Regions from separate parts of the Homo sapiens genome. Here all the other regions are linked to region 7. The links are contacts of gene promoters, found by promoter capture Hi-C in blood cells and fetal thymus (Javierre and others, 2016). All regions are on one chromosome and are shown on one strand. The core of a region is centred on a gene start or on the middle of the fragment in contact, and the rest is flanking DNA. Distances in the headings are between cores, read along the strand shown. Region 1 has its middle 2.2 kb from the start of H4C6. Region 2 has its middle 3.7 kb from the start of HFE. Region 3 has its middle 2.3 kb from the start of H2AC8. Region 4 holds the start of H2BC4 (H2B clustered histone 4). Region 5 holds the start of TRR-TCG4-1 (tRNA-Arg (anticodon TCG) 4-1). Region 6 holds the start of H2BC6-AS1 (H2BC6 antisense RNA 1). Region 7 holds the start of H4C12 (H4 clustered histone 12).

The links. Contacts are between HindIII fragments. The CHiCAGO score rates a contact against its expected background, and 5 or more counts as called.
Region 1: a contact is called between a fragment that was not itself captured here and the fragment with the promoter of H4C12 in region 7, in 16 of 17 cell types (fetal thymus, erythroblasts, non-activated CD4 T cells and 13 more). The highest score is 28.8, in fetal thymus.
Region 2: a fragment that was not itself captured here is called in contact with the fragment with the promoter of H4C12 in region 7 in 6 of 17 cell types (monocytes, non-activated CD4 T cells, total CD4 T cells and 3 more); the score reaches 10.6 in monocytes.
Region 3: a fragment that was not itself captured here is called in contact with the fragment with the promoter of H4C12 in region 7 in 16 of 17 cell types (fetal thymus, total B cells, neutrophils and 13 more); the score reaches 32.8 in fetal thymus.
Region 4: a contact is called between the fragment with the promoter of H2BC4 here and the fragment with the promoter of H4C12 in region 7, in 15 of 17 cell types (monocytes, M0 macrophages, total CD4 T cells and 12 more). The highest score is 22.9, in monocytes.
Region 5: a contact is called between a fragment that was not itself captured here and the fragment with the promoter of H4C12 in region 7, in 5 of 17 cell types (naive B cells, non-activated CD4 T cells, total B cells and 2 more). The highest score is 7.0, in naive B cells.
Region 6: the fragment with the promoter of H2BC6-AS1 here is called in contact with the fragment with the promoter of H4C12 in region 7 in 15 of 17 cell types (erythroblasts, naive CD8 T cells, activated CD4 T cells and 12 more); the score reaches 24.1 in erythroblasts.

What each region holds. Positions count from the first base shown.
Region 1 is chr6:26,236,797-26,239,496 of GRCh38, reverse strand. No RefSeq gene overlaps it. Among named protein-coding and RNA genes, the nearest start is that of H4C6, 2.2 kb to the left of the region's middle. The HindIII fragment of the contact is 583 bases long and covers 985-1,567 here.
Region 2 is chr6:26,082,367-26,085,066 of GRCh38, reverse strand. No RefSeq gene overlaps it. Among named protein-coding and RNA genes, the nearest start is that of HFE, 3.7 kb to the left of the region's middle. The HindIII fragment of the contact is 4,963 bases long and covers 1-2,700 here.
Region 3 is chr6:26,217,829-26,220,528 of GRCh38, reverse strand. It overlaps the pseudogene H3C5P. Among named protein-coding and RNA genes, the nearest start is that of H2AC8, 2.3 kb to the right of the region's middle. The HindIII fragment of the contact is 3,747 bases long and covers 1-2,700 here.
Region 4 is chr6:26,122,655-26,125,354 of GRCh38, reverse strand. It overlaps H2BC4 (H2B clustered histone 4), which reads left to right and starts at 1,429. Exons shown (of 1, transcript NM_003526.3): 1 at 1,429-1,888. The coding sequence starts at 1,451. The coding sequence ends at 1,831. H2AC6 (H2A clustered histone 6) reads right to left here and starts at 1,183. Exons shown (of 1, transcript NM_003512.4): 1 at 665-1,183. The coding sequence starts at 1,122. The coding sequence ends at 730. RefSeq lists enhancers at 807-1,016, 1,107-1,246, 581-1,266, 74-1,273, 1,517-2,256 and 4 more and a silencer at 1,280-1,645. The HindIII fragment of the contact is 15,442 bases long and covers 1-2,700 here.
Region 5 is chr6:26,298,845-26,301,544 of GRCh38, reverse strand. It overlaps TRR-TCG4-1 (tRNA-Arg (anticodon TCG) 4-1), which reads right to left and starts at 1,868; the gene lies at 1,796-1,868. LOC124901287 (a long non-coding RNA gene) reads right to left here. Exons shown (of 2, transcript XR_007059520.1): 2 at 2,581-2,700. The HindIII fragment of the contact is 1,637 bases long and covers 568-2,204 here.
Region 6 is chr6:26,171,503-26,174,202 of GRCh38, reverse strand. H2BC6-AS1 (H2BC6 antisense RNA 1) reads left to right here and starts at 1,430. Exons shown (of 3, transcript NR_186648.1): 1 at 1,430-2,168. RefSeq lists an enhancer at 1,464-2,356. The HindIII fragment of the contact is 22,011 bases long and covers 1-2,700 here.
Region 7 is chr6:27,830,130-27,832,829 of GRCh38, reverse strand. H4C12 (H4 clustered histone 12) reads left to right here and starts at 1,270. Exons shown (of 1, transcript NM_003541.3): 1 at 1,270-1,656. The coding sequence starts at 1,303. The coding sequence ends at 1,614. RefSeq lists enhancers at 961-1,786, 1,710-1,819. The HindIII fragment of the contact is 8,845 bases long and covers 1-2,700 here.

The sequences.
Region 1 (2,700 bases), core at 27-2,526, 1.6 Mb after region 7:
ACTCCTGACTTCAGGTGATCCACCCACCTTGGCCTCACAAAGTGCTGGGATTACTGGCGTGAGCCACCACGCCCGGCCATTTTTATTAATTCTTAAAATGTAGCAATACTTCTTAAATTTGGCCAATCATGAGACTTAGCGTTTGGCAGAGACATATACATTCACATCGTTTTTGGCATTCCTAATAAAGAAAGACCTCTAGTAAGGGAAACCAATATTAATTGAAGTTTCATTCTTAGTTTTTCAATGTATAATGCAATATCTGAGGTGTAAAGATAAGGAATCCCAGGCTTGAAGACATTATCCTCTAATAAATGGCATTGTATTGTTGGCTCGATTCTGGAGTCTCACTACCTTGCTACCTACCACTGCTTTCATGCCACTAAAGCATACATGGTAAATCATGGTGAATAAAGGTTTGTAAATTAACAAAAATAATACTAATAAATTCTGTGAAATACTGTCCTAATAAAAGATTCCGGAAGAAGTGTTCTACACACAGATCATAGGGTATGTGTAGTAGAAAAATTCAACATTAACTCTTACAGTCTACTGCTTCACATTCATTGCCTCCTATATACTGCAAGGGTAACTTAAAAATCCCGTCTCTGCTGGTGCCTAAAAGCAGTGAGAAGATTATTCATTTTGTGGAGTTAAGAGTCTACTTAAATTTTGGCTTAGGTTCAGTTACCTGTAGGAATAGACACAAGGATCTCAAGTGCTCTCCTTTTTGAGGTAGGCACCAAACAAGCATCATTCATTCATTCAACAATTTAATGTCCACTACATGCCAAGAATAGTGTACAAATACCAGGTTTACAAAGATAATCACATTTATTCTCTTAAAGAACTCAAAAGTTTAGTAAAGGGAAAAGTACACTCAGGGTTAGGGGGCAGATATCAGACCAGCATACTTCTACTTACTGTCAGGTATTTAAGGGCGGAGCAGCCATATCCCAGCTATACTGGCATCACTCTGAAGCTTGTTAGACATACAGAATTTCGGGCCCAACCCCAAATCAATGGAATTGATATTACATTTTTAATGAGATCTCTAAGTGGGTGGTAGGTATGCTCTTCCAAGTTTGAGAATAATTGTTTTAAAGCTCTGCTGTCCTATATTAGCCACTAGCAACATGTGCTCATTTTTATTTAAATTAATTTAAATTAAAAATTAATTTGCACACTTACTCTAGCCACATTACGGTACTCAGTAGCCACATATGGTTAGTGGCTACCTATTGGACAGTGTTAATACAGAATATTTTTATCATCGCAGAAAGTTTTATTGGGCTGTATCTGTGATAAGGGGGTTTCTTCTGAAGAGCTTCTAATCCAGTCTAGAAGGGAGGAGGGAGTTTGGTGGATGCCTGAGACATGTAAAGAGAAAACTGTAAGTTTGAGTATAGTAGTGGCCTTCTTAGGAAATAAAATTAACACAATACTGTTGTACTTGAAGAGGAATTTCAAGGAGCCAGTGTCCTCAGGTAAGACTACCTCATAGACGGTTACAATCGATGTGATTTCTCATGGACTTTTTGAACACGTTTGATTCTAACACAAAGCTTTATTTTCTATAATAGTCTATATATGTTTTCACCCCTTTTAATATTTATTCTATATAGTTTCTTTTTTTTTTTTTGGAAATCTTTAAAATCTGAATTGTGTGATGCTTAAGCACAGTGTCACTGGATTGATCTATTGAATACTACCTACAACTCTCATAGTCATTTACTATGGTGGTGGTGGGGATGGGGGAGTTAACACAAAATGAAGAGAACACTGGGCCTTAAGTTAGATAGCTATCACTTATCTAACTAGTTTTTCCTAGCTACTTTTTGCATCTATAAAATAAATGGTTCCAACCTCAGTGTAATGGGAAATCTACTGTTTTAGATTATATTCAGATTTAGGATTCCAAAGCAACACAGAACTCTTTTTGAGGGCTACCAAAGTAATAGGTGAAACTTTGCAGGACTTCAAGTTTACAGTCCATGGGGTGATCCAGCTTTCAGGAACCTTGTCCTTGCTACAATTACAGAGAAGATAAGTACCAGGTCCCAACTTATGTAGCCTAGCCCCTTTCCTCTTTGAACATCTGGCGAACTTTGTTGGTGAAACTGAGTCTCAGTTATTGCCCTCCAGAAAGAGCAGAGATTAGTTAGCCCAATGCCTTTTTACTTACTGAGATCCTAAGTAGCTATGGGAACCAGTCAGTGTTGCACAAGAATGAAATGGTGGCATCTGTTAATTGACTATATCTAACACGGTGAACAATTCCAACAATTATTCAACAACTATTAAGACTACAATAATGATCAAAATAATAAACAGTAAACAATCTGAATTTTAATTGTACCTTTACGTCTAGGCAATATAAAGCTATGGTCCCAAAAAAAAATACTTAGAGTATGCTTGTGACTATCACTGTTGAAAATGATATCCATAATGATGCACCGCCCCTGCCTCCAGAAACCTATAAAATGCTTCCCTACTGGAATTGTGGGGTCCTACTAATCCAATTCTATAAGTTTAGCTTTTTTATAAACCACATTTGTATTTCAGTGGTGTATAACACGGTCTTAAGTCCCAGAGACTTGTTTCTAATACATGCAAGAGAGTAAATAATTACTTAAGACAAGCTTAGTAATTTTTTTTTTTGAGATGGAATTTCACTCTTGTTGCCCAGGCTGGAGTGCA
Region 2 (2,700 bases), core at 171-2,670, 1.7 Mb after region 7:
GCATAATGTTTTTATGTATGTTTTTCATGGACCAATAATATCTATTATAAGGACATACCACAACATATTTTATTTATTCATTCATCAGCCGATGGACATTGGTTTGTTTCTACTTTATGGCTATTGGGAATAGTGCTGTTATAAACATTTATGTACAAGTTTTTTTGTAGACTTATGTTTTGATTTCTTTTGGTTATATATCTAGAAGTGGGTTTGCTGGGTCATATGGTAACACTGTTTAACCTTTTGAGGAATTGCCACATTCTTTTCCAAAGTAAGCATTTTATCCTCCTATCAGCAGTGTATGAGAGTTCTGATTTCTCTCCATCTTTGCCTGGGTTTTTGAATCAGGGCCCCAGATAGAACAAAAATGTGGTTATTCAGTTGTTCCACCATCACTTGTTGAGAAGACTCTTTTTTCATTGAAGTGTTTTGGCACCCTTATCAAAAATCAATCTACCATAAATGTGAGAGTTTATTTCTGGAGTCTCAATTTTATCCCATTATGCTATAATCTATAATCCTATCTTTTTTTTTTTTTGACAGAGCCTCACTCTATTGCCCAGGTTGGAGTGCAGTGGCCCAATCCCGGCCACTGGCTCCTCCTCCCAGGTTCAAGCAATTCTCCTGCCTCAGCCTCCCAAGCAGCTGGGATTACAGGTACCTGCCACCATGCCTGGTTAATTTTTGTATTTTTAGTAGAGACGGGGTTTCACCATGTTGGTCAGGCTGGTCTGGAACTCCTGACCTCAGGTGATCTGCCCACCTCAGCCTCCCAAAGTGCTGGGATTACAGGCATGAGCCACCACACCCAGACTATAATCCTATCTTTATGTCAGGACTACACTGTCTTGATTACTATAGCTTTTTAGTAAATTGAATTCAAGAAGTTTCTCAACTTCAAATTTGATCTTTTTTTGGAAGACTATATTAGCTATTCTCAGTCTGCTGAATTTCCCTAGGAATTTTAGGATCTATTATCAATGTCTATTCTATTTTTGTATATGTTTTAATATTTTCATAAGAAACTTTTTTCATTTAAACTTTTTTTTTTAAGAAAAATAGTGAAAATCAGAACACTGGGGGTCAGGCGCATTTAACAGGCAGAAGAAGAATAAAAACTTGTCATATAAACAAAAAAGAAATGACCAATCACATTGTGGAAGCCATGGAGTGGTTATAGGTGCCAAAGGCTGCAGAGAAATGGTGTCAGATATACCTGAAAATTGTCCATTGTATTTGGCCATTAAGAGACTTAGAAGACTTAAGCCATAGATTGCTCAGTGAGACCCCGAGGGCAAATGGTCTGAAGGTGAATAGATCATTTCACCTTTAAGAGAGCAGGTAGGAAGCTATAAATCCAAGATTAAAAAGTTGACTGAACTGTTAAGGAAGAAACTCTAATCTTGAGCCACCCTATCCTGGCTCCACCTTCTGCTGCAAGCAAACAGAAATGCTGAAATTCAACACTCACAAAGGCTGGTAAGCTGGAAATGACAAAAATTACTCCTGGGAAAGTCAGATTTAGAATTAGGCCATATTTGTTGGGGTTCAGATTTTCATGTACACTTGGGAAAGGGTTTAGCTTATAGGCACATGCATGAAGGGAACTGGTATAGGGCTGTGTTCATAAGGTCAAGAGTTGAAGGCCAGGCATGGAGGCTCTTGCCTGTAATCCCAGCACTTTGGGAGGCCGAGGCAGGAGGATGGCTTGAGCCCAGGAATTCAAGACCAGCCTGGGAAACATAGGGAGATGCTGTCTTCACAAAACAATTAAAAAATAAAATTAGTCAGGTGTGGTGGCACACACTTGTGGTCCCAGCCACTCAGGAGGTTGGGAAGATCACTTAAGCCTGGGACATTGAGGCTGTAGTCAGCCATGATAGTGCTACTGCACACCAGTCTAGGTGACAGAATGAGACCCTGTCTCCAAAAAAAGAGCTGTATCCACATCCCAGGAAAGTGGTTGAAGATCTACTTTTCTCTGTAAACCTAATAAAGAATAGAGTGACAAATGTGTGTTGTGGAAAGAAATGGGGTGAGAGCTACGTAGATGCAAAACAATACATCCCCACATACCACTTGTTAATCATCCTTTTCCACCCACTTATGGGATGAATTGCATCTCCCCAAAAGATACTCTGTCCTAACCCTCAGTAGCTGTGAACCTGACCTTATCTGGAATACGGTGAGTTCACTGGTTAAGAAGAGATTATAGTGGAATAGGGTGAGTCCTCCAACCAATGACTGGGGTCCTCACAGACACAGAGGGATGATGGCCAGGTAGAGATGGAGGCAGAGATTGGAGTTATGCTGCCACAAACCAAACACAGGAAGCTGCTAGAAGTGGAAACAGGCAAGAAAGAATCCTTCCCCAGAGGCTACAGAGGGATCTTGGCCCTGATAATACCTTGATCTCAACTGGCCTACGTAACTGTGAGAGAATAAATTTCTTTTGTTCTAAGCCACCCAGTTGATAGTACTTTGTTACGGCAGCCCTAAGGAACTTGATATACATTTCTTTTACTGTCATAGAAGTTTTGAATCTTTTAAGTAGGTCTGTACCCTTCCTCCCAGTGTCAACACATGGAATTCCTCTCCTTGTGCCTTGAAAAGTGAAAGGTGTTTGAACTGGTAATGAAAGAAATCTCAGCATGAGGCCAGATGCTGTACCTCACACCTGTAATCTCAGCACTTCGG
Region 3 (2,700 bases), core at 146-2,645, 1.6 Mb after region 7:
AAGGACACCCAATCAGATGTGTATTAGGTTTACATGTATGTAAGATATGTCCCATGATCACTTTGGGGTGAAGATTTAACATTTAAATGAGTTATAATTAGGTCCTATATATAAAACTGAAATGTAGGGCAGAAGTCCATGATCTGCATTCTCAGGAGACTGGTCACAACCAGTTGTGGGCCTGCAGTCATTTATCAAGAAACTCTATGGTCCTTAATATCTGTCTTGTCTGGACCACCATGGAGGAGGGTGGAAGAGGCCAGATAAAGTAAGTAAAAGGGCTTTCCGGTGTATTATTCCCTCAAATCGGACTTTGAGAAAATCTAGCAGTGATTAGAAAGGGGAAGAGGGGTAGAAACAAACAGGATGTGCAGCCTCCATCCTGTCATGCCTGGGAACTTAAACTTTTGGGGTCTTTTAGCCAAAGGAGGGTCCATTATTCTGTCAAAGGGGTTTAGAATTTTCATTTCATCCCTCACCTCTTTGAACATGCATTCCTTCCTTCTGGGTATTGGGTATGGGACAGCTCCATCTCTGGAATGGGGTCTTATGACCTGCAATTAAACAAGGTGGATCAAATAATTTCTCTGTGTCCAGTTTTTACACGAAAAGTTGGAAGGGAAGTTAGAGTAATATTTTTAGTTTTTGTGGTTGGCTTTGGGGAAAAAGGATTCTGGTTGTCATAAGCCACCTTGGGAAACCGGAATTCTAGTTTCTATGTCTAGCCTCAGGGGAGAATGGGACTGAGAGACAAGAGGGCAGGAGAAAGTCACAGAAAAATTTTGCTTCTGAGGTTGCTTCTTTGGCCTTCATTTTGGGGTATTGTTTCTGAGCCCCAATTTGATTGAGTAAAGAATGTCAGGGAGTTATACTATGGGGCTTCATAGACATTTATCTTGCAATTGCTATATTTTAATCGTGTTTTAGTGAAAATTTTATTTAAGAAACATTGTAAGACTTGTGAGGAAAAAAGGGAGGGGGAAGAATGTATCCCACTATAAAAAATTTATAGTTTTTACAAAGTTTGCAGGGAAATGTGCTTACATCATCTCACAATTTACCATTGATTAAAGGTATCAAACTATCGAAGTTACTTCTTGGAGGCTTTTGTCTGGTGATGCAAATAATTTCTGTTATTTGTATCACCAGAAATTATTTTTGATGCAAATTATTTGTGATGCCAATAACTTCTGTTCAGTGGAACACATATAACTGCAATTATTTAGAACCCTAGGGGCATTAATTTTTTTAATAATCTCATTCAGCAACCTTGTCCTAACATTTAAGAAAGGGCAGCTTTTCCCTTAAGTAGCTCAGTGACTTCTGGTAGCGATGAATTTCAGCATGATTCAGGGCCTATATCTGAGGGACACCTTCAAGCTGCTGGTGGCCAGAGTGCTCTTGCTGGCTGCCTTGGTGGCCAGCTGCTTAGGAGGCTGTCTGCCACCAGTGGACTTCCGTGTGGTTGGCTTGGTGCAGGCCATGACCTTTCATATCAGATTTACAGATCACTTCTCTTTATAGGGCCTGGTGTGTGATCCAATTAGATTTGAGATTTTTTACAGAGAAATGTGACTGGATTTCTACTAAAGTTGAATAATTAATTGTGCTTTACAGTGTAGTCCATTTATAAATTTAGGTCATAAAACTAAGTTTTTGCTGCTGGGTTTTTTTTGTTTTTTTTTTTTTTTCCTTTCCTAAACAGGATCTTGCTTTGCCCCCCATAGCTCGCTGCAGCTTCGAACTCCTGGGCTCAATCAATCCTTCCCCGCGTAATTCTCCCAAGTATCTAAGATCTCAGACTGAGCCACCAGGCCAGGCTTTTTCTTTTCTTTTCTTTTTTTTTTTTGAGACGACGGAGTCTCGCTCTATTGTCCAGGCTGGAGTGCAATGGCATGATCTTGGCTCACTGCAACCCCCGCCTCCCGGGTTCAAGCGATTCTCCTGCCTCAGCCTCCCGAGTAGCTGGGATTTCAGGAGCCCACCGCCATGCCTGGCTAATTTTTTTGTATGTTTAGTAGAAACAGGGTTTTGCCACGTTGGCCAGGCTGGCCTCGAACTCCTGACCTCAAGTGATCCGCCCATCTCGGCCTCCCAAAGTGCTGGGATTATAGGCATGAGCCACCGGGCAGGGCAGGCTTTTTACTTTTTGTGGAGGTGAGGGGGCTGTCTCGCTTTATTGCCCAGGCTGGTCTTGATCTCCTGGGCTCAAGCGATTCTTCTGCCTTAGTCTTTCAAATTGCTGGGATTACAGGTCTGACCTAGGGCGTCAGGCCGTTACTGCTTAGTTTCGTTTAGTGTTTATTTTAGAATACTGTGTTAATTGCTCCTTTTGAAAAGAGAAATCCAACAAACACAATTCTCACTAGAGGAATGTAGTCTTTTTTTTTTTTTTTTTTTTTGAGACGTAGTCTTGCTCTGTTACCCAGGCTGGAGTGCAATAGCGTGATCTCGGCTCACTGCAGCCTCTGCCTCCCGGAGTCAAGCGATTCTCCTGCCTCAGCCTCCCAAGTTGCTGGGACTACAGATGCACACCACCACGCCCGGCTACTTTTTGTATTTGTTTAGTAGAGACGGGCTTTCATTATGTTGGGCAGGCTGATTTCGAACTCCTGACCCTATGATCCGCCCTCCTTGGCCTCCCAAAGTGTTGGGATTACAGGCATGAGCCACTGAGCCCAGCCGGAATGCAGTCATCTT
Region 4 (2,700 bases), core at 180-2,679, 1.7 Mb after region 7:
TCCCAAAGTGGTAGGATTAGAGGGGTGAGCAGAAAGCAAAGGTTTTTGAGTGGCCACAGGCCCCACTCTATTTCCTTTTCTGCCTGTAATGGCAACCTAGACGCTTGAGCTTCTTAAAATACAAGAGTAAGTTGCATGTCAGGCACCGTTCTACATTAGGGACATTAGTCTGTTTTACAGACACCTTTCAACTCCCTGGTTAACTTTTAGGTAATATACTCTGCACTTTAGCAGGAATGGGACCTATAACTCTCACAGAATTAGGAAAGTGAGGCTGCCTACAGCCTAAATTGAGAAAAAAATAGACGGGGGACTAGTCGGAGGACCAAACAAGGTTACCAACACGTTAGAGTTTTGCCTTCAATTTACATTTTTAAAGTAATCACAACGAAGTGTTTAGATCACGAGGCATCCCTGCATGTAAACTGTTAGGCACTAACTATGGTCGATCTTACAAAGCATTAACTAGAATATTTCTTTAGAGTATGATAGTACGTAACTGACCTACTATTACATACAAACAGACCAACCTTTAGTAACAGCGCTCCCCAAAAACCGAAAAGCAGTAATACGCTTTGCTCAAGGTTGGCATAAAATTAACTTACCTTAGTGCCTTTTTTCCTTCTACCTACAAGCAGTGAGGTTAGCTCTTCCTTTGAAACGGTAGGGGGGCTCTGAAAAGAGCCTTTGGGTTTGATAGCGTTTCCGGGAGCTCAGATACCTGTCAAATCACTTGCCCTTGGCCTTGTGGTGACTCTCGGTCTTCTTAGGCAGAAGCACGGCCTGGATGTTAGGAAGGACGCCGCCCTGAGCAATGGTCACCCGGCCTAGCAGTTTGTTGAGCTCCTCGTCGTTGCGGATGGCCAGCTGCAAGTGGCGCGGGATGATGCGAGTCTTCTTGTTGTCGCGAGCCGCGTTGCCGGCCAGCTCCAGGATCTCGGCGGTCAGGTACTCTAACACCGCCGCCAGGTACACCGGCGCGCCTGCCCCAACCCGCTCTGCGTAGTTGCCTTTACGGAGCAGGCGGTGCACTCGGCCCACCGGGAACTGGAGACCAGCGCGAGAAGAGCGGGATTTCGCTTTGGCGCGAGCTTTGCCTCCTTGCTTACCACGTCCAGACATTGCAATCAGACAAAAATCACCAAAACCAGCGGCCTAAGCTCACGAGAAAACAAACAAAATCAAGAAATATGTAAAACATGGCCGCTTTTATAGGTAGTTCCTGGGGAGTAAATCCGACTTTTTGATTGGTCGGTAGCAAATGCTAGTCAGATAGCCAATAGAAAAGCTGTACTTTCATACCTCATTTGCATAGCTCTGCCCACGGATGACAACTGTGCAGTTTGTCTTCCAATTAACTAAGAGGTACTCTCCATCCCTCATTAGCATAAAAGCCCTATAAGTAGCAGAAATCCGCTCTTTACTTTCGACACATTTCTGGTGTTTTAAGATGCCTGAGCCAGCCAAGTCTGCTCCCGCCCCGAAGAAGGGCTCCAAGAAGGCAGTGACCAAAGCGCAGAAGAAAGATGGCAAGAAGCGCAAGCGCAGCCGCAAGGAGAGTTACTCTGTGTACGTGTACAAGGTGCTGAAACAGGTCCATCCCGACACTGGCATCTCTTCCAAGGCCATGGGCATCATGAATTCTTTCGTTAACGACATATTTGAGCGCATCGCGGGCGAGGCTTCCCGCCTGGCGCATTACAACAAGCGCTCGACCATCACCTCCAGGGAGATCCAGACGGCCGTGCGCCTGCTGCTTCCCGGAGAGCTGGCCAAGCACGCCGTGTCGGAGGGCACCAAGGCCGTCACCAAGTACACCAGCTCCAAGTAAACATTCCAAGTAAGCGTCTTAACACCTAACCCCAAAGGCTCTTTTAAGAGCCACCCAGATACCCACTAAAAGAGCTGTGGCCAGACGCCAAATTTTATTTGGCGGCGGAGGGGTATTAGAATATAGGAACTGGAGAGGGGTGGGGACAAGTGTTGCAGCTTAGAGAGGGACAAAGGGTCCTGAACCCGAAAGAAGCCAGCCATTAAAAATGGCTTTGGGGTCAATTCGTTGTGCTTAAATTTAAAATGGAGACAAGCGGCCATTTTGCTAACTCGGCGTTCCCGGAAGAAACCGCAGGCTCGCTTAGGTTTCAGACCCAGCTGTCTGTCCCTGTCTACGTCGCCAGGATCAACGGTTGCCGTAATGTCATAATTTCGCCACCAGCTTCTAGCCAATAGGCTGTCCTGTCATTTTAAATATTAACCAATCGAGGGAAAGCTGTTTTGAGACTCTGATTTACATAGCGGACCGGAGTGGGAACCTGGGCAGTAACTGCCTAAGGAAGGACTCCCCCTCTGTTTTCGTGGCGCACACCTTCGTAGTATACTGAAGGGTGTGTCTCCTGGGTTTCCAACTGCCCCGGTAATAGTCTTTTAACCTAATATGCGTCAGTTTTGATAACAACACTAAGGCAGTACAGAACTAAAGATGTAAGCACTGCGCCAGATGTTGCTTCATACATCTTATTCTATTCAACTGGTTTATTCAAGATTCAAATCAAATCAAATTTTGCTTGAATCCCAGTGCTCAGTCAGCCATAAATGGTGTGTTGCCTGATTGAAACTTAAAATCTCCGTAGGGGGCTTGTAACATGCAGACAAGTTTGAAAGTTGCTTTAGGAGAAGCCAACTCTTAACTGCTGGGTAAAT
Region 5 (2,700 bases), core at 137-2,636, 1.5 Mb after region 7:
GGGGGGCTACTCTATTAAATTCATGAATCTCTTAATCCCCTGTGCAACTGGACCCAACTCCCAGTGTTTGTGATACACATCTAGAAATCTTTCTTCTTGATTTATTTTCTTCCAGTTGCTTTTTTTTAATCCAGCTCCAAAAGATGTTTTTCATGTTATTTATTTATTTATTTTCTGAATCCCACTCTCAAAGCAGAAAGGCTTACACATTCATCAAAGGGTGCATATATTTTTATTTGGTGGATTTGGGACAAGTTCCTAAATCACGGTGACCATTTAAGACTCAGGATGTCCACAGATTTCCCTATCTTTTTCAGTTTTCTCCCTTTTGGCACTTCCCAGTCTGGAAAGTCTCTCTCCTCCTTTTGGCATTCTTTGCTATCAGTGCAGTAGAGAAAGAAAGAAAAAGAAGAGAGAAAGGGTTATGACAGGCAAATTTTTATATTCTTGCATCAGAATTTCCACTTTCATTAAATGCTTGAGGGAGGCTGTGGGGCCCCTGGAAAAAGTCTTGTTCATCCTCTGGTACACAGGGTTACATACTGATCAGAGAGAGAGGAGGAAGCTTTTTCCTGTTCTTAGAATCAAGAAAAAAGGTGGGCTATGTAATTCTCAAGTATCACTGTATTCATTTTAAAAGGTTACTCTTCTTTTGAGGTTATATCCTTTTTCTAGTTTATAAAAGGATGCTCAGTGCAAATGGTGGGTTTTGCCATTAACAAGGCAGAACATGGTTTTGCATGACATTAGGACATTGACACTTTCTAATCCAATAAATTTCAAAGTCTGGAAACCAATGCTCAATCCCCACATTTTTTATACAACTTGGAATCTACAGATGACTAGAGGAAACCAGAATCAAACAGAGCTATGGAAGAAGCTGGGGACAGGGAGAGGTAATTATTACTAATTTTAATATTCTTTGCTTTGATCTAGAAACACACTTATGGACTCCATGTGATTTGAATCAATGATCTCATCTGGATGGAGTCAAATGTCTTATGTTTCATCATGATGTCAGCAATTGGAAATTACTTTTCCTTAATCCTAAATTATTATTAAATTCAGGCACACAAAATGTTATTTAGGAATACAAAATGTTTTTTATATATTTTGCACAGCTGTGTTCCCTGTCTTTTCCTGTTTGCACACACACACTGTAACCAGTTGGACTATTTTAATTACCTTTATATTTTTGCTTTGCAATATAAAATTCAATATTAGGTATTCTCATCCTTTTGATGGCAACACACCCACAACAAAAAAGTTAAAATGGAGAGTAAGAACTAGTAACATAGGCTTCAGCAGCTGCCAAAACTCCTTGGTACACGCGGATGTAGACTAAAAAAGAAATGTGAAGAGTTTTTGGCCTAGTGCTAAATCAGAAGAAGCAACAGGTTTCCTACTGTGCTAGCCACTGGGGCCTGGCATTAGTCTGAGACGCTACAGTTTGAGACAGCTTGGCTTATAGATCTGAATTTCTTTTTTTCAAGGAATTGAATCCTTGAATTGAATCTAAGCCTACAAAACCGAAACGCAGGTGCTTAAAATCCAAACTTGGGGAGAACCTGACAGCTCCAAAGTAGTAGATGGCTGTATTTCAGTTTTGACTTTCCAGTCTTTCTTCACTCTGTCACTTGTTCTCCTAAGGCCTTTGAGAATGTCTCCTTCTTCCCTTTAAAGGAGAGGAGATGGAAGAAAAAAAGGATTCAGAAAACCCAGAGAGTGTATGATTTATTTTTTTCTTGGAATGAAATGGGTAATAAAATTTTCATGCCCGAAAACGAACCCCACTTAACCACGAAGGGATTCGAACCCTCAATCTTCTGATCCGAAGTCAGACGCCTTATCCATTAGGCCACGTGGTCCCCCGCAGTTCCGTTGTTGCTGCAATACTTAGAAAATAAAACGAGCTTCCCCCCACCCGCCCCCTCCAACCCCCCGTGTTGGCATCTACAGCGCCCGTGTTTTCGCCAATGAGAAAATGAAAACTTTAGATTAGGTGGGATATTTGGGGCCACAGAATCGGGATTTATAAACGGTTGGTATCGACAATTATTTTAGTCTTGTGGTAATATAACTACTCCTTGGAGAGAAAAGTCGTTTGTTCTGACTCCCAAGGCAGAAGAAGCGGAGTTTATGGCATCTAAAAGATGCTAAAATTCTGCATATTGTCTGCATCGAAGGATATGTTAAAATAAGCTTACTCAAGGTTTCTTCCCTATGATGCTCATCCACATTCACCATTTACAGACTAGGTTCTTGCAGGGTCTGCCCAGATAGTTGTTAAGAAAACTGTACCTGGAAGGCAGTTTTACCACAAGGCAACATCTGTACCGTGGTCTTTCTCGCCATCCTGCATGGATATCTGCAGACCCCGGAGACAATTACCCCCTCTCCATGCTGTTCTGGTACTTTCTCTGATTGTGATAATGTGATATCAGAGCACTTTTCGTGGTATGGTTCTGTTTAGAAAGGAAAGAAAATACTTTCCTTGGGGTTTCTCAGGAGTGCCGAGCGGACTAGAGCCATTACCAGTTTTTGAGGTTCCCATATATTAAGAAGTGAAGGAACACGAAATAGAAATGCAAAAATTTTTATTATTAACAATTTTTACATTTAATAGATGAATCAACACGAAAATGTAATGCATTAGCATCATACTATGGAGAAGATATTTATAGAATTTATAATGTTCCG
Region 6 (2,700 bases), core at 181-2,680, 1.7 Mb after region 7:
AAAAAAATGCCTATTATGAGAAAAAATGGAAACCAGGAGAAATTGCAGAGACCATGTTATTTAAATAAATAGCTGATTATATAGGGTTTATTCTAAGAATAGAAGGAAGTTTAGTATTCTAAATCTGCCAGTTTAAGAAATTAATAAAGGAAGGCCCAGAGCAGTGGCTCACGCCTGTATTCCTAGCACTTTAGGAGGCTGAGGCAGGTGGATCACTTAATGTCAGGAGTTCAAGGCCAGCCTGGCCAATGGCGGCCTATCTTCTTCTGATAATACAAAACTTAGCCAGATGTGGTGGCACGCACCTGTAGTCCCTGTTACTTGGGAAAGTGAGGCAGAAGAATCGCTTGAACCTGGGAGGTAGAGGTTGTAATGAGCTTAGATCAGGGCACTGCACTCCAGCCTGGGAGACAGAGTGAGATTCCATCTCAAAATAAAAACTAAAATAATAAAAAATAAAATAAAATAAAATAAAATAAATAAAATAAAAAAGAGATTAATAAAGAAAAAACATGATCATCTCCAAAGATACTGCGAAAGCATTTAACAAAATATAACACTCTTTAATCATAAACACTTAACAGACTACAATGAGAAGAGAACTTCATAAGGAGGAGCTACAGCGAGTATAACACTTAATGGTGCCGTTTTGGAAGGATTCCCATAGAGGCGGAAGGAAGACAAGTGTGGTGAGAAAGTACTCCTATTCAACACGGCATCACAGGGTTTGGCCAATACCATGAGATAGGAACAGGCAGTCAGAAGAGCAAGGATTCAATAGGAAAAGATGATTATCTTTGAAAATAACATAATTGTCAAGGTAAAAGTTCACAAGAATCTATAAACAATTAGATCAAATAAGAATTGGAATTAGTGGGCATAGGCCAGGCGTTGTGGCTCACGCCTGTAATCCCAGCACTTTGGGAGGCCGAGGCGGGCGGATCACGAGGTCAGGAGATCGAGACCATCCTGGCTAACACGGTGAAACCCCGTCTCTACTAAAAAATACAAAAAAACTTAGTCGGGCGTGGTGACTGTAGTCCCAGCTACTCGGGAAGCTGAGGCAGGAGAATGGCGTGAACCCGGGAGGCAGAGCTTGCAGTGAGCCGAGACTGCGCCACTGTACTCCAGCCTGGGGGACAGAGCGAGACTCCGTTTCAAAAAAAAAAAAAAAAAAATTAAAGTCATATGAAGATTAATATGTAACATCTTCTTCGACTTAAATGTTCATTTTTTTCCTTCTGACTTTAGAAGAAATTAAAATATTTTCATGAGCCTCCAAAAGAACTGCGGACCCTAGACACCGTGCCTGCTGTTTAATGGAGTACGGCACTGCGTGTACCGGAAGATGATTTTTTTAAAAAAAAACTCAATTAGGAAATAATTATTCGCACACATTCATATACATACATACATACACTGAATCCTCACACGAAGAGCCCTACAGGCGTGAGAACAGTAAGGGAGATGCAAGAAAGGTCTCCTTGGAGTTGGGAGGCGTATTTACAGCTACTAGAGAAGGGGGAAGTGCCAGCTCCCCGAGAAGAAAGCAGGAGGATGCTGAGAGACTAAAGCTGAAATTTTCTGCCTGCTTCCTCACTCTTTTCGTTGGTTTCAGCCGTCTGAAAAACCCTTGTGAGAGGAGCAAAAAGGTCAAGGGAAGATTGTTGCCTTGCTCTCAGTCTTCAAAATTTTCGATCCTCCGTTTTTTTTGTTTTGAGACGCAGTCTCGCTCTGTCGCCTAGGCTGGAGTGCAGCGGCGCGATCTCGGTCACTGCAACCTCCGCCTCCCTGGTTCTAGCGATTCTTCTGCCTCAGCCTCCTGAGTAGCTGGGACTACAGGCGCGTGCCACCACACCCGGCTAATTTTTTTGTACTTTTGATAGGGACGGGGTCTCACGGTGTTAGCCAGGATGGTCTCTATCTCCTGAACTCGTGATCCGCCCGCCTCGGCCTCCCAAAGTGCTGGGATTACAGGCGTGAGCCACCGCGCCCGGCCGGTCCTCTGTTTTTAAACTGTAAAGGACTCCAGCGGATTGTTCGAAGTCTCCGATATCCCGCGATCTGGTGGCCGCAGAAGAAAGAGGCCGAGTCGGCGGGGACTGGGAACCACCAGTTAGCGGCCTACGGGCAACCTCCCGGACGCGCGCGCCGGGCCGACGTTAAACGTACGTGACGCCCTATGCGGGAGCCGGATGGGCGTAACGGGGCGGCGGCGTAACGTGTGGCTCTGTGGTTAGGGCACGGAGGGGCGTGGCCGGACGGCCCTATGAGGGGGCCGGCGTTTTTGGCGAGGGTTGATGGGATGACCCTATGAGGGAGCCTGCGTGGAGGGGCACGACCGGCCCCAAGACTCCTTTTCATGGCCGCATAGCCGCACCGGGAGTAGGATGACCGCTGTTATTTTTCAGGACCTCTCATCTTCGGTTTGAAATTCTTTGCTTTTTTCCGGCTTTGTGTGGCTATTTAGTATTAGCATTTTAGGGCAGTTTCATTTCCTTTAAAGTAAAACTCTCCAAAGTGGTCTCCGGACCAGCAGCATCAGCATCACCTGCATAATTTAGAAGTACAAATTATCAGGTCCTACCTCAGATCTAATGCATCAGAAAAGTTTTGTGACTGCTTCAAAACATTGTTTCCCTTAATTCAGATGCTGGAGGAGACCTTTCAAATGGCAGCTTAGCATAAGCTAACCAGTTT
Region 7 (2,700 bases), core at 21-2,520:
TCAAATATACGGAATCAAAGTTGCTCCATAATGGTTGATAACAAATCTTTAGTTGGGTCATATAAAAGTGTCTTTTTAAAAACCTACAAGCGTCCAAGCGAAGCGGCTCACGCCTGTAATCCCAGCACTTTGGGAGGCTGAGGCGGGCGGATCACGATGTCAAGAGATCAAGAGCATCCTGTCCAACATGGTGAAACTTGTTCTTTACTAAAAATACAAAAAATTAGCTGGGCGTGGTGGCGCATGCCTGTAGTCCGCGCTAATCCGGAGGTTGAGGCATGAGAATCGCTTGAACCCGGGAGGTGGAGGTTGCAGTGAGCCGAGATTGCACCACTGCCCTCCGGCCTGACGACAGAGCGAGACTCCTTCCAAAAAAAAAAAAAAACCCCACACACAAAACCTACAAACACCAATTTTCTAGTTATAAGAGCTTGTTTTAAGGATTTTAATTCTATTCCAATTAAGTCCTAAAGCTAATGCAATTATCAAAATCTCGAAGAGATTTTATTCAAACTTCACAAAAGGTCTCTAAAGTTGTCCAGAAACCTTGGTGAAACAGATTAGGAAATTTGGAAAGGAAATAATGCGGAGACCCGTAGTACCAAATCATGAGACCTCTAATACAATTTTAAATATTAATGTAATAAAATTTAAATTTTGGTGTAATAAAATCATAAATTTCAATATTGGTCCCAAGTATAGAGAAAAAGTACATTTATGTTGAATGTGGAAAACATTATTTTTAAAATACAGCCGATTAAAAAATTGCTGGGGAACTGATTATAACTATTGATAATTCCTAAGAAACATAGACACCAAAACATCACTTTTATCTCTTTAATAGAAATTGGTTAAATTATAATCAATATAAGGAGGTTACAAAACTCCATATACAACACTGTATACATTTTCTTGGAAAAATATGTGCAACTGCTCTGCAAAATACATGATTAACTAGCCTGTGTGATGGGATAACATTGTAGTTTCTTAATTTCTTGTCCTTTCTTGTATTTCCCACAGTATTGATGTATATCTTCTGCGTTCAAAAGCAATTTTTTAAAGCCTCATAACGTGGTAACAAAATACTATGCACGTTACAAAATTCAGAACACGGAAACAAGAAGCTCGCTTTTTTTTTCCCCCTATTTCGGTTTGGCCCTTTAGATTTCCCCTCCCCCACCGGGGCGGGACTTCCCGCCGACTTCTTTCAGGTTCTCAGTTCGGTCCGCCAACTGTCGTATAAAGGCGCTGCCTCAGGCCAGAGTCCTCACAAAGCGTTGGGTGAGACTCCTCTTGCTCGTCATGTCTGGCCGCGGCAAAGGCGGGAAGGGTCTTGGCAAAGGCGGCGCTAAGCGCCACCGTAAAGTACTGCGCGACAATATCCAGGGCATCACCAAGCCGGCCATCCGGCGCCTTGCTCGCCGCGGCGGCGTGAAGCGCATCTCCGGCCTCATCTACGAGGAGACTCGCGGGGTGCTGAAGGTGTTCCTGGAGAACGTGATCCGGGACGCCGTGACCTATACAGAGCACGCCAAGCGCAAGACGGTCACCGCCATGGATGTGGTCTACGCGCTCAAGCGCCAGGGCCGCACCCTCTACGGTTTCGGTGGTTGAGCGTCCCTTTCTATCAACAAAAGGCCCTTTTTAGGGCCCCCACTTTCTCAGCTGAGGAGCCGTGATGCTTGTTTGCCCAGTTTCTCTTTACCATTTGTTCGCGCCTGCTGAGTTTGTGCTGCTATCGGAGCATGCGTCTCTAGTCGCTGTAAGTAGGCATCAGTCACTAATCGCTCTCCAGTAAATAAAATACCCAACACAACTTGTTTCAGGTGCTCCAGAGCTTACTGACATGGGCCGTCGCGCAGACTGTAGTGCAGTGTCATCATGGCTCACTGTAGCCTCCCGATTAGCCGGAACCTCGCGCCCACCACCACGCAAGGCTAATTATTTTTCCAAAGACCGGGTCTCCGTGTGTTTCCCAGGCTAGTTTCGATATCCTGGCCTCAATCCCCTCGCCTATGCCTAATGTTGGTATTACAGTAGTGAGCCACCACGCCTGGCCACGATACTGTTGAGGTTTTAGGGTTAGTTACATTTAAGGGGCAATTTTCGCAGTGTAGTGGGGAGGAAAGTCAAGCAGTTATAGGTTTCTGGCGCTGTGAATCCAACTGCTGAACATAGCAAGAACTTATTATGCAACAACCTTTAATCAGTGGACCGTAAATAAGTTTAGTTTATCGGTTTTGGCCCAATTCTTGAGAAAGGTGAGAATTTGAATCCTTGAGTAGAAATACGTAGCTTATCAGTACAACAAAGTGATCACAACAAAGACTAACTTATCCTTTGTTACTTAACGTGGGCAGAGCTTTACCGCTGAGAATTCCTCAGCCTTTGAGTGTTCTCTTATTTACAACTGAAGTTGATAAGATGGTATTAAAAGTGAGATTCCTAGTAAGTAAACTTAAAGGCCTGAAGGACCAGTGATTAATGGGAAGTGCTAATAAGTCATATTTGAGGTTATCCAACCCGAGATTCTGATTTAATTGGTTTAAGGATACTATCACCTTGTGGGTTAGATTTGAAAAATAATAATTGCTTTAAGGAAGGAACCTGTTGGTATTTAAACAAAAAACTTTCCTTCCTGATTCTTACATGCCGTCACTTAGACAAATCTCTGGTCTACATGGCTGGATCTCTTTCTGC